2 separate regions of the Homo sapiens genome follow, and region 2 is linked to region 1. The links are contacts of gene promoters, found by promoter capture Hi-C in human tissues and cell types (Jung and others, 2019). All regions are on one chromosome and are shown on one strand. The core of a region is centred on a gene start or on the middle of the fragment in contact, and the rest is flanking DNA. Distances in the headings are between cores, read along the strand shown. Region 1 holds the start of SEMA5B (semaphorin 5B). Region 2 overlaps PDIA5 (protein disulfide isomerase family A member 5).

Evidence for each region. Contacts are between HindIII fragments. The study calls those that stand out against the background at their distance.
Region 2: a fragment that was not itself captured here is called in contact with the fragment with the promoter of SEMA5B in region 1 in 2 of the 25 tissues and cell types used here (H1 embryonic stem cells and pancreas).

What each region holds. Positions count from the first base shown.
Region 1 is chr3:123,023,799-123,029,592 of GRCh38, forward strand. SEMA5B (semaphorin 5B) reads right to left here and starts at 3,965. Exons shown (of 23, transcript NM_001031702.4): 1 at 3,666-3,965. RefSeq lists an enhancer at 4,569-5,076. The HindIII fragment of the contact is 5,774 bases long and covers 550-5,794 here.
Region 2 is chr3:123,136,457-123,143,195 of GRCh38, forward strand. The region is part of intron 11 of PDIA5 (protein disulfide isomerase family A member 5); the gene reads left to right. Among named protein-coding and RNA genes, the nearest start is that of MIR7110, 22 kb to the right of the region's middle. The HindIII fragment of the contact is 5,721 bases long and covers 1-5,623 here.

The sequences.
Region 1 (5,794 bases), core at 2,715-5,214:
CCTGGGAGATCAGAGGCATGTGTTGTTTACTGTTGTATCCATGGCTCCTAGAACAGTGCCTGGCACATAGTAGGTGAGTGAACACAGGAGTTTACTGCCACTGGATGGTCTCTTTTACCCTGTACCCAGGCAGTGACAAAGCCAACACTTGAAGATCATGGGAAACATCTGTCTACTGCCAGGGTATAGGTGGTGGGGCACCAGAACTCAGCTCTGGGTTCTTTAAGGCAATATAACATAACAAGGTGGCATGCACTTCTAATCAGGGATCTTGTCTTTTTGTCTTCTTTGTCCATTCTACCACCTCAGTCATCAATGAAAGTGGTGAACTGGTTGGCTGGTAATGAGTTGCTAACTCAGATCATTGGATATAAGAGGGTGACCAAGACTAAGCACGGGAGTGTTATGGTCAGTGTTCAAATAATTGGACCCAATAGCATCATCTTCCTAAATACACATACTCCATCCATAAATGTCTGCTGTTCCTCTATCCCCTTGATGGGTTCCCATCCCTCTTTTTAGATCCCCACTCAGGCATCAGGGCTTTCTGGATGTTCCTTGGAATCTGCAAACATCCAATGTGAGCTTCTAGTCTTATCTCATCTAACCCTATTGCTACATTAGATGAAACAAAAAGTTATGGTTGAATTTTCTCTTTTTTGTAAAAAATAAAATTGGTTTACACCCACTGGATTCCCAGTGGGAATGGGGACAGGAGATCTGAATCCAGTCTTTGCTCTGCATGTGGAACCTTATATCAATGGATGTGATGTGCTCAGATTTGAGTAAAACAAGATGGCTCCCTCAAGGAACTTATCATCTGACAGAAGAATCTTAATGGGCCCTGAGAATGAGGGTGAGCCAAGGGCCCAACAGGTCAGAGGTAGAACCAGGCCATGAGATATTCCAGTCAATCCCCAAGGTACAGGGAGACAAGATAACATGTATATCCAAGGCAGATGAGCTCACTTCTTAGAATCTTAATATCTTTATCTATAGATATAAGGGGTCAGGCTACTTAAAGGCTGTTAATTGATTTTGTTAGGATCATTTCACTTGGCCAGTTTGGCTTTGAACTCCCAATTGTCCATAAGCTGGGCCACTCTAATTGCCTGATCAACACACTGTGACCTGCCTGCCCTCTGTAGGCATTTGAATTTGTGCTTCCCCTGACATGGACAATCTCCAGGGCCTCTCCCAGCTTTGAGTCTCAATAAGAAGTGACCACTGTAGGGTCTTTCAAACAAGCCAGGAAGTTCATCCTAAGACAAGAAAGTTTCTGGGGCTCCTCCAGTCCTAATGGGGAGGTAGCAATCTACAGTGTTGGGCTGGACCTCTCGGCTTCTCTGGTTTTCTAGTCTGGCACTAGAAGTGGTAAAGGAACTTTTTCCCCTCCCTAGTGGGAAAGGAGGTGCTGGCTGTCCTATCTCAGGGCAGAGTCAATAAGCCCAGCTCTCTGTCCCACCTGAGTCATCGAGTTTTTTTTAACCCTTCCTCTCCTAAACCCTTGGGTCATCAGGCACCTTGCTGCCTGTACAGCCACTGCATGTTCCTCTCCATGTTCTCCCTCCCCAAACACATAGACAAGTGTCTCAGGATCAAACTGGTGAACTTACTAACCTCTCTGGGCATGGGCTCGGCCCTGTACCTCTTTTTATCTACCAGCATTTAGCATGGTGCATTGCACATAGTAGGTGCTTAAACAGTGTTAGATGTCCACGGTGATGATTATGGTCGCTACTGTTGGCTTTGGAGGAGGAAGGCTCTGGCACTGGCTGCTTGGAAAAAGAAAAGGGATGGAAGATCTGCCATTCCTTCCCAAACTGGTGGTGATAGGTGTTGATATGGAGAAAAGAGCTCCCCCTGAAACCCACACTCACCTACACACACCTTTCCCAACACAGCAAGCCAGAGGCAGCCCTGCCCCGAGTGGTCTACCCCCACGCCCCAAGGCCCAGAACAGTTCTCACCGCCCCATGAGTGACCAAGTGGCAAGTTCCCCCATCTCTCCTATATTTTATCTCCTTTCCTCCTCCGTTGAAAATCTAGACTTCGGGAAAGGTACTGGCTGTTTCTTTCCAAGCTGCTTTCAAATCTGCCCCCCTTTTCCGTAATCTTGAGGTCCAGTTACAAGGTTCAAGTTCCCCTCTTGCCCCTTCCTCAAGGTCATCTGTCCCGGCTTAGAAAAGGTGAGAGGCCACTGCTGATTGTCAAGAAGAGAACAGGCTTAAAAAGATGAGCTGAAGTGGGGAGGCCGAGGAGCAAGCAGGCAGGGAGGGCTGTGGAGAGAGGCCCCGAGGCCGAAGTGGGTTGGGGTGCCTGAGAAAAGCGGAAGGAGGTCGGATTCACTAGGGGCTGAAGGAAAAAGATGGGGTTAGGGCCAGAGAAGGTAGGATCGTGGTGAGGTCTAGACACAGGCAAGCTTCCAAACCCTCAGTCCCAATTCCGTTGGCCGGGAAGGAGTGCATGCCAGGGTAGCCCGCCCTCCCGGCTCCTGCTGCTCTCACCCCGCCCCTCTGCAGAAAGCCTGGGCAGGATCGCAGGGGTGCGGGCAGAATCCAGCGCTCCTCTCTCCCCATCCAGACTCTCGGCCCACTCCCGCCTGGCGCGGCGGGCAGTCGGAACTACCCAAAGACTGGGCTCGAGGTGGGGGGCGGGGGCGGGGAGGAGGGGGCCAGAACGGCGCTGCAGGTGATCCTCCTCCTTGTTTAAAGTTTGCGGTGGGCAAAGGAGTCGGCTCCGTTGGGCCGGGTTTTCTCGAGCCTCGCCTTCTTCCTCCGCCGGTCCGGCGACCACTTCCCTCTTGGCTCCCGCCCCGCGCGGGTCCCCGATCCCCTCTCCCGTCTGCATCCCTCTCTGTGCCCGAGCGCCCCCCGCTCCCTCCCTCCTCGCTGGATCTCCCGCAGGACGTGAGCGGAAAGTGAATGGGCAGCCCCAACCACAAAGACAAATTACCATGAGAAACATAAATCGGGAAATCGCCGCTCGCGTCCCTGCTTCCAGCTGCCGCACCCCTCTCCACCCTCCCAGCCGGGAGTGCGGGGCCCTGAGCCACTGCCCCTGGAGCCTGGTGGGCAGAGTTCACGCTCCGCAGGCCTGGTCAGGGCAAGAGTGTCCTGGAGGCGGGTCTGGGAAGAATCCGGGCGGCGGCTCCGCAGGCGGCGGCGGTGGAGCAGGGACGTCCCTGAGCGGGAGATTTCACACTCTGGGCGGGCCACGCGTTCCCACGCGCCTCGCCGCCCGCACTCTCCCTCAGTGCTGTTTACTAGCCGGCCCTCTCTGAGCCTCCATCTCCGCACCTCTGTCCCTCCGTCCCTCAGCCTCACTCGTCCGTCTCCTTCTCCAGGCCTGGGTCCCGGGTCCCCATCGCCGCTGCAGCCCAGATGCGCCGACCACAGCCCTGGCAGGGCCCAGTGCAACCCGGACCCAAGCTGGCTGGCGGCGGGAACGCAGCAGCGATGAGGGCTCTCAAGCCGAGGTGGCAGCGGGAGGCGCGGAAGCCAGGGGACCCCCTGTCCTCCCGCCCGCAGCCTCACCTACCTGGCTTCAACTTGCCAGAGCCCGGACCCCTACCTCTCTACCCCGATACCCACCCGAGTTGCTGAAGTTTGCAAGTTGCAGCCCCAACCCGCGCAGGGGAAGCGCCCGGGGCTCCCGGGACTCACCTCCCAGAGGCGGGTGCAGGTGCCCGGTTCCCCGCGGCTCCCGACTCCCGGGCGGCGCGGAGCGGCGGGAGCTAACCAGATGGGCTGGCGGCCGGTCTGGGAATGGGGCGGCCGCGCAGGAACGGCCTCCAGCTCTCAGCGCTCCGGTGCAGTCCCCACCCGGGCCCGCGCCCGCTGCGCTCGGGCTCCCAGCAGCCGCTGGATGCGCTGCCGACCCGCCCGGCTCGGCGGAGCTGGGCTCTGGCACCAACCCCCGCGCTCCAACTAGCTCCCGACCCGGCGCTCGGAGAGAGCAGGGAGGAGGAGACCGCGGGAGCAGAAGGAGGGAGGGGGCGGTGGGGGAGGAGTTGCAAGCAAAGGGAGAGAAGGAGGGGAGCGGGAGCGAAAAAGAGGAGGGGGCTGGAGCAGACCTGCCGCGGCGGGCGCTGCACCCGCCAGCCTCGAGGCGCGCGGAGGAGCGCGAGGGGGCGCCCTGCATCCCGCGGCTGCTCGGCCGACTCCCGCCCCGGGCCTGCCGAGTGTGGTGACCAGCCCGGTGGGCCGAAGCCCCTTCCCCGGCCGGCATTCCGGCGGCAAGACCTAGGACTCCGAGCACTTGCCGCCGTTTGCCACATCCCGCCTTGCCGTTCTCGGTCACCCCATCTCGAATGTGACATCCCCGAGGGCCATCGGCGCGGCCTGCCCACCCCAACACTCAGGGCCTGAGGAAGCTCCCCCAAACCCCACTCCGGACTCCCACATTCCCCAGCCCCGTCAGTTCGGAACGATCTTCCTGCCTGTGGATTTGAAGGGGAAGGGACCTCGTGTAAAACGGGGGAGAGCCGTTATAACCTGCAGCGGCAGAGAGGGAGGCTAGGCTGCTGGGCTGGGCTGGAAAGCCAGAACTGGCCGGATTAGGGTTAACCTTGCAAACTGTACGATACCGAGCGAACCTCTCCAAGCCTCAGTTTCCTCAGCTGTAAACTGGGGTTAGTAATACGCACCCTACAGAATTGTGAAGAACGAGTAGGGGATACGGGGAGTAAAATAACATCAGGAACAGTGGGAGGGCAGCCAAGAGATGAGCGATCCGGGGAGGTGGTGGAGCGTTCTCAGCTGAGGACGGAAGGTTTAGCGCAATCACAAGGAGCGAGGCCGAATTGTTTACAAGTTTAAGTGATCTAGTGTTTCTGATGGCTAGAAGGCGGGAGAGAAAGATTCAAGGGGCAAGCTTCAAATCCTAGCTGCCCGGGCTGCAAGAGGGATGGGAAGGGAGCCCTCTGCTGAACAAAAAATATATTTGAAAATGTAAAAAAAGGTGACCTAAGAACGAGTGAGAAAGACAAAGGATTTGAAAAATTAAAACCAGGAAAGTGTGATTCTAAGAGATAACCAAAGAGAACTATGAAATAAAAATAGATAAGTTGGAGGAAGGAAAATATCAAAAGACTTTCTAGAGTATGCCAAAAATTGGATAATTAGAACAAAGTCTGAGTGAAGCATTTTACATAATAAAATTCTGGGTAAAGGAAAACCCAGATAAAGCAGAAGAATTGAGACACTAAGAGCCCCAGAGAAGCACCTCCTGCCTGCCATCCTCCTACCCCTGGACCATGGCAAGAAGCAGTTTGACAGGATAATGGGAAAGAAAGGGTGGTTCTGAATCCAAGAAGGGAGTTTATGAGACACTGTAAAAAGAGAAACAGTGCAAGATCTCAAAGATAGACTTTCTAGGGCAACAGAAATGCTGAAACTCATAATGTGCAGAATGGAGAGAAACTTGCAAAGGGAAAACACGCTCTGGACACAAAGGCAGAGATGCAGAGAAGAAAAGAAAGGAAACGGGCATGTGTGGGCATACCAGTCTGGTAGCCCAGTCTGGGGTAAAAATCAAGTTGGAAGAGGCAGCATGGGATATTGAGTCCAAATCTATCATTTTATCAACAAGGACAATGAGCTCTGGACCATTCTCCCAGAGTCCCAGGCTGAGATAGGGATAGGTCTCCTGATCTCCACCGTGGAACCTTTCCACTGCAATGAGCGTGCCCCCCCCCCAACCCCCATTCCCTGCAGAGCCATGGGGAATGTTTTTGTCATCACAAAAAATAGAAGTATGTGCAATATAGAGATACCTTTTAATTAACACAAAA
Region 2 (6,739 bases), core at 1,513-4,012, 110 kb after region 1:
TTGGCTGGGCATGGTGGCTCACGCCTGTAATCCCAGCACTTTGGGAGGCCAAGGCGGGTGGATCATGAGGTCAGAAGTTCGAGACCAGCCTGGCCAAGATGGTGAAACTCTGTCTCTACTAAAAATACAAAAATTAGCAGAGCATGGTGGTGCACGCCTGTAGTCCCAGCTACTTGGGAGGCTGAGGCAAGAGAATTGCTTGAACCCGGGAGGCAGAGGTTGCAGTGAGCCGAGATCATGCCATTGCACTCCAGCCTGGGTGACAAGACAAAAAAAAAAAAAAAAAAAAAAAAGGGGGTTGGGTTTTTTGTTTTTGTTTTTTAACATAAGTAGGACTACTTCCTATCCATTCTTCTGTGATTTGCTTTTTTTAACTTGTCAATAGGTCTCGAAGATATTTTCATGTAAATGTAGATATTGGCACATAAATCTACCTCAATCTTTTTAACCATTGAATAGTATTTTATAATTTGGATATGCCAGAAATTTTAAACCATTCCCCTACTGATAGGTATTGTATTTATCTCCAGTTTTTCACTATTCAAACAATACAGTGAGCATTGGTAAACATATATAATTGGGAAAATGTGTAAATATTTTTGATTAATTCCTAAAAGTGAATTTCCTTGGCCCTGGGGTAAGTAAGCTTGAGCTTTGGCAGATGCTACCAAATTGCCCTACAGAAAGGTTTTCCCAAACCCAGCGGGTGACAGAGCCTTTGTCCTTGCAGCCATGGATACTATCTGCCTTTTATATTTCTGCTAAGCTCGGCAAAACAGCAACTTGTCTGCAGCTATCTGACCTCTAGGGAAGCTGGACATCTTTTCATGTGATAATCAGCTTTTCATGTTTCTTCCATGGACCACCTATTCATACACTTTGCTCATTTTTCTGCTAGGTCTTTTTATTTATTTGTCTTTTTATTCTTGACCTAGAACTCTACAATTATAGATATTAATCTTTATCTGTTTTCTGTGTTTTCCATGTTCCATTAGTCTATTTCTTGCTCTAATTTTGTTTATGGTGCCTTTCATTGTACAAAGCTTTACATCCTTTGTAGCTGAGTAATAGCTATTATATTTATTGGTCACTGATCACACTTACTATGGATCAGGCGTTGTTCTAGGTACTTTCCATATTTTAACAGATTTAGTCTTCATAAAAAATTCGTGAATTTGATGTCATGATTAATTATTCTCATTTTATAAGTAAGGACGGGGAGACACCAAGAGGTCAAGAAACGTGCCAAAGGTCACATAGCCAAAAAGTGCAGCCAGGATGAAATCCCAGGCTGTCCCAGAGGCCACAGCCTAACCACTGAGCCATTCTGCAAGTCTGCCTTCTCCCATCCTGACCTCTGGGATTTGTGGGTTGTTTAGGAAATTCTCCCTTAGGATATTAAAATAGTGCCCTATATTTTGTTATAATGTTTTTATTTTTTAATTTCTTTCTTTAATTCATCTCTATTTTTCATTTGTCTATTGTGCCAGGTGGGAGGAAGGGATTTGAGACAGGGTCTCACTCTGTCACCCAGGCTGGAATGCAGTGGCATAATCATAGCTCACTGCAATTTCAAACTCCTGGGTTCAAGTGATCCTCCTGCCTCAGCCTCCTAAGTAGCTAGTACTACAGGCACACACTACCACGCCTGGCTAATTTTTTAAATTTTTATAGCAGTGGAGTCTCACTATGTTGCCCAAGCTGGTCTCAAACTCCTGACCTCAAGCAATCTTCCTGCCTTGACCTCCCAAAGTTCTAGGATTATAAGCATGAGCCACTGCATCTGGCCCTAATTTTATTTATTTAAGTCTTTTCTATGCATCTTTTTCCTTTACATAGTCCCCTTAACATTATCTTGTAGGTATTTTCATATGTTATTAAAAATGCTTTTTTTTGTACGTGCTTTTTGTGGCCACATAATATTCTGCTGTAGAATATAATGACACTGTAAATTGGTTAACTAGCATCATAATGTTGAAGGTTTGAGTTGTTTACCATATTTCCCATTATAAATCATGCTGCAAAGAACATTTTAATGCAAAAATATTTGTCTACATGTCTGATTATTTCCTTAGGATAGGAACCTAGAAGTAAAATTTTAAAAGCTTGTTTATCCACATTTTGTGCTAACATAAAGGAAAAAACAAACTCTTTGCATAAGAAGAGGGGTCATGTGATGAATAGAGGCATCTGTGAGTGTGTGAGTCTGCCCCAAGATGCCTGTAACTGTCAAGGAGTCCACTTTGGTGCTTATGCGTTTGGAAGCCTTAAAAGAGCTCTGAGGTCTCTGTAGGCCCCTCCACGCCCGTATTTCTGCTGGCATTTGTAGGAAACCCTCCCTCCCTGGCATGCCCCAAGCCAAATTCCAAGCAAGGCAGGAACCAGGCTCTTCTAGAGGCCCAAGTACTACCCCAGTACCCTGGCTACCAGGGAGCTTTACAGATTAATCTGGTCCTCTGGGAAATTCTGGTTCCAGCATCCAGGAAAGCCCTATAGCTGGCCTGTAGTAAAATCATAAGTATAATTGAATTTAATGAAATCCAGACGAATCCGAGGGCTTTGGGTTGACAGGAAGCCAACATTCCCACAGCCAGAAAAGAGCATGATCAAGGAGTTGATGTGCAGACCTCTATGCCAGATCACGGAAATCGGAGTAAGTGCACTTACACAGATGATAAAAGCCCAACAAGGAAGTTTAGCAATAAAACTTAATGGCCTCTCAAATCACAATCAGGACACAAAATGCAGTGGGCCGGAGTCCCGCTCCCTGCATGTAACCCTCCTCCTCCAACTGTCCCACAGCCAGGGACATCATGAAGGCCAGGCCCAGGAGGCTGGTCCTCAGGTCACCGCCAGCTCTATCCATCACCCACGGCTCCCCAAGACAGGAGGGTGTCTGGAAGGGAGGTGTTTTCTCAGCCAGACCTTTCTCCTCCTCTGGGCCTGGCCAGGCTCCTCATCTTAAACTCTGTTTGCAGAAGTTTATTGCTTAGCCTTAGTGTCTTATTCAGGGTCAGAGGGAATTGATGCTAGAATTGAAAACCTTAACAATATCAAGAGAATTCTAGGGTATGTATGGGAAACTTTAGAACAGCATCCTTAGATGTTAGAGATTTTGGGAGACACTTTTCTCCTAGTGAGGTGCAGAGGAGGCGCAAAGATGGTAGTGGGGAGGAGAGGAGAGGGGATGTGCATAGTAACTGGCTTGGTTGCCAGTTCTACTAATTAGAGGTGTTTAGTCAAATTAACGACTATTTGAGTGCAAGCCATGACCCTTGCCCATAAAGAATTTAGTCCTGCCAAACCTTGTGTGTACAGGTGTAAACCTAACAACCTAACAAGTCATGAGGCTAATTCATTCAGAAAGCGTGTGGAGCAGCGTGGTCAGTATCAGGAATATGGTGGCCAATTAGACAAGACAGCCGAGCCCCTGCCTGCACATACAGAGCCTCCATTCCAGTTGAGGGGATGGGCAGGGAACAAGTGAGCAGATTACTCCAGCTGCTTTGAGTACAATTGAGAAAATAAAACAGGATATTGGGAGAGGGCATGATAGCATGAGGCGCCTTTGGGATAGGTGGTCAGGGAGGGTCTCCTAGAAGGTGAAATTTGAGTGGAAGCCTGAGTGGCTGATGTAAAGAGGGGTAAGCCGCATACAGACCTGGGGGAAGATGTTGGTATGTATGCTCCAGGTGGGTAGGAAAGAACATGTTCCAGGGCCCTGGGGTAGAAATGAACTTGGTGTGTTGGGAGAAGAGGAGAGCCAGAGGCTGCAGTAGAAGTGACCTGAGTTGAGGTTGAAGGTAGGCAGGACTCAGCTTGTGTGGGGTCTGTAGCCATAATAAGTTTGGATTTGAATCTACCTGTGATAGGAAGCCACTGTAAAGTTTTAAGCAAAGGGATCTGATCTGATTGATGTTTTGAAAATATACCCCGGCTGCCCTTAAATATCAGAAGACAGCAATATCACAGTCACAAAGCAACACAAAATTAAATGCCATAGAAATATCTGAATAAGAAGTATTTTGTAATTAGAAGAGAGACAGATCATTCGATGGGGCTACAGTGAACTGGGAAGACTCAAAGCAGGGGCCAGAACAAAGGTAGGATTGCGAGGGGTTGTCCAGGGTGGATGTTGCCTATCCATCAGAGCAGGGGCTGGGAGGAAGAGGTGGCAGGTGGTGATGGCCCTGGGGGATTTGTCACTTCGTCTTCCAGAGCTACAATTTCTGGCACTGTAAAACGGACCTACTGAGCTGTGTCATGTGTCTGGTGGGGCTGCTGCGATAGAGTGTGGAAGCCCAGCACAGACAGCGAGTGCTTTCCTTATAGAGGTGGGGAATTCTGGGAGCTGAGGCCAAAGCCCAGGAGACAGCCATGTGTGCGAGCTGCGGAAACTGGAGGTCTCCTGGTATTGACCCCAGCTGGCTTCCCATGCCTGTGGCAGACGTTGCAAGTTGGTCACAGCTCCTCTTCCCAGTGAGCGAGTTCTCAGACTCAGCCTCTGTCTCAGGCCCACCGCTGATGGAAGCTGGCAGGTGGAATGAAACCCACTTGCCACCCTGGCAGGGCAGTGGCATCAAAGGCCTGGAGCCTGATAAAGGGATGAAGTAAACCTCCCTACCAGCACACAGTGAATTCTCATCTTCAGGAGTCCTGCCACATCAACAGGGTCACTTTAGAAAGCAACAGTGATTCTCAGTGAATGGCAATGGCTGGCTTTTCTTTGTCTTCCCTCCCCTGATTCCTACTCCAGTCCCACTGTCCATCTTGACCATGGGCCCTGCCAGCAGCTGGCCTAACAGCACCATCCATATCATGGAGGGTATGGGGAGAGTGGTCAAGGGAGCCTCTCTTTCCTGCCTCTCCCACCTCCCTGGAGGCCACCCAGGGCCTCATGCCTGCATTTCCCGAGGCCTCCCAGTGTGTCCTCCACTATGTGCTGCTGGGCTGAGTCAGTCTGTCTCAGGGCAGTGGACCTTTGGGGACTTTGCATGGACCACTCACATCTCTCCAGAGCAGGTTGAACTCTCGGGCGATAGACTCACCGCCACAGGAGAGTCTCTGAGCTTCCTTCTCCTGCAGTTTGTTCATGCAGGGTGAGCCCCCTCACTCTGCCCCAGTCAGGGGAGGTCAGCCTGAAAGCAGGAGAGTGGGGGGCTCACCTTGGACAGGTGCAGGGAGCAGCAGCTTGGGGTTGCCCCCGGGGCAGGGAGATCCCTTTAAGAGCTGTAGAACTTTTTCATCCTGACCGTGGCCCCAAAGGATGGTTTACTCCACTCTATTTTAGTGAGAAGCAAAAAAATAATTTTTTAATCTTAATATACCTCATATTAAGTCAGTAGAACCTTCTGCAGATTATTCCATTTACTCCTGACATGTGGGCCAGTGTGGAAAGACATCTAAGCCTGGGCCCCTGTGCATCAGCTCTCCGTGTTCTTCCGCTTTGCCTCCCATTGGACAGTGATTGGCTTGGAGTCCGGTGGTCTCCTTTGTCCTGGGCTCCTAACCCCAGTTCTGTGAGCAAGTTCAGGTAGTCCAGGATCCCTCTGGAATTGTACATACATGTGGAGTATATGCATCAGTGTGGGGAAGGGGAGGAGAGGCTTTTGTGACAATCTCAAGAATGTCAGTGCCTGGGAGGCACAGACTCCTGCCCCAGCTCTCCCTGGTCCCTCTTGGAGTTCTTCCTCTCACTGCTGAGGTGGGGGTCGCTGCCTAGAGGGAGCGGCCTGCCTGCTGTCCCCACTGGATCGCGGGCTGCACTTGTCCCATTGGGAGCAGGCTCAGGGAAATACAAATAGCACTGCGTGCTTTTATGTTTCAGGTGCATCCTATTAAATGGGCTTTTGCGGTTGCCCCTGGGAATCTGCATGTAATCGGTGTGTAAAATTGTTTCTGAGGGGAAAACAAACAGCCAACTTACCAAAACAACCCTTTTGTGACTGGATTATTTAGGTAACACATGGCTCATGATGATGCTAAATGTTCATTTCTGGAAAGTGATATTCTTGTCATTCAAAATAATGATGACCTTGATACCTCTACAGCTTATGATGGGGGGATCCCAAGTGGGGTCTAGTCAGACCGTGAACTCCCAAAGTCATCTAACCCTATGTGCATTTTTCTGGAAGAAGGGTTTACCACTTTGATCATGATCTCCACAATGTCTGACTGCAGGGGACATTAAGAATATCTGCTGTGGAGAACAAGGCCAGGAACAGCCAGGCTGTCTTGCCCAGCCCAGGGGCAGCCTCTGGGGGGGCCGAGCTCAGCAGTCCCAGAGGAGCCCTTAGGAGCACTTTTGGGGCTATGTGCCTTGCTCAGCCCTGGCAGCGGAATTCTGCACTGCTGAATTGAGCATGGGGACGTCCTCATTTCTCTGAGGCTGCCCCTGCCCTCCTGACTGGGTCCTCTGTCCTCTGTCTCTAACTTGCCCACATGTGTCCTTTCATCTGCCACCTCCAGGAGGTCTTCTCAAGCCCCTGGTCAACCCAGGAGTTGTCTACTAATTATTTAATTAGGTCTCTTCATTGCTGACCAGTAAATATTTATCATGTATCTATTAAATGGTGATCCTTTTGCTTCATGGGGAGGTACAAGGTAAAAAAAAACCTCAGGTCCCACCTTTAGAGAGTCACCATCTGGGGCTGGGCATGGTGGCTCACACCTGTAATCTCAGCACTTTGGGAGGCCAAGGTGGGTGGATCACAGGTCAGGAGATCGAGACCATCCTGGC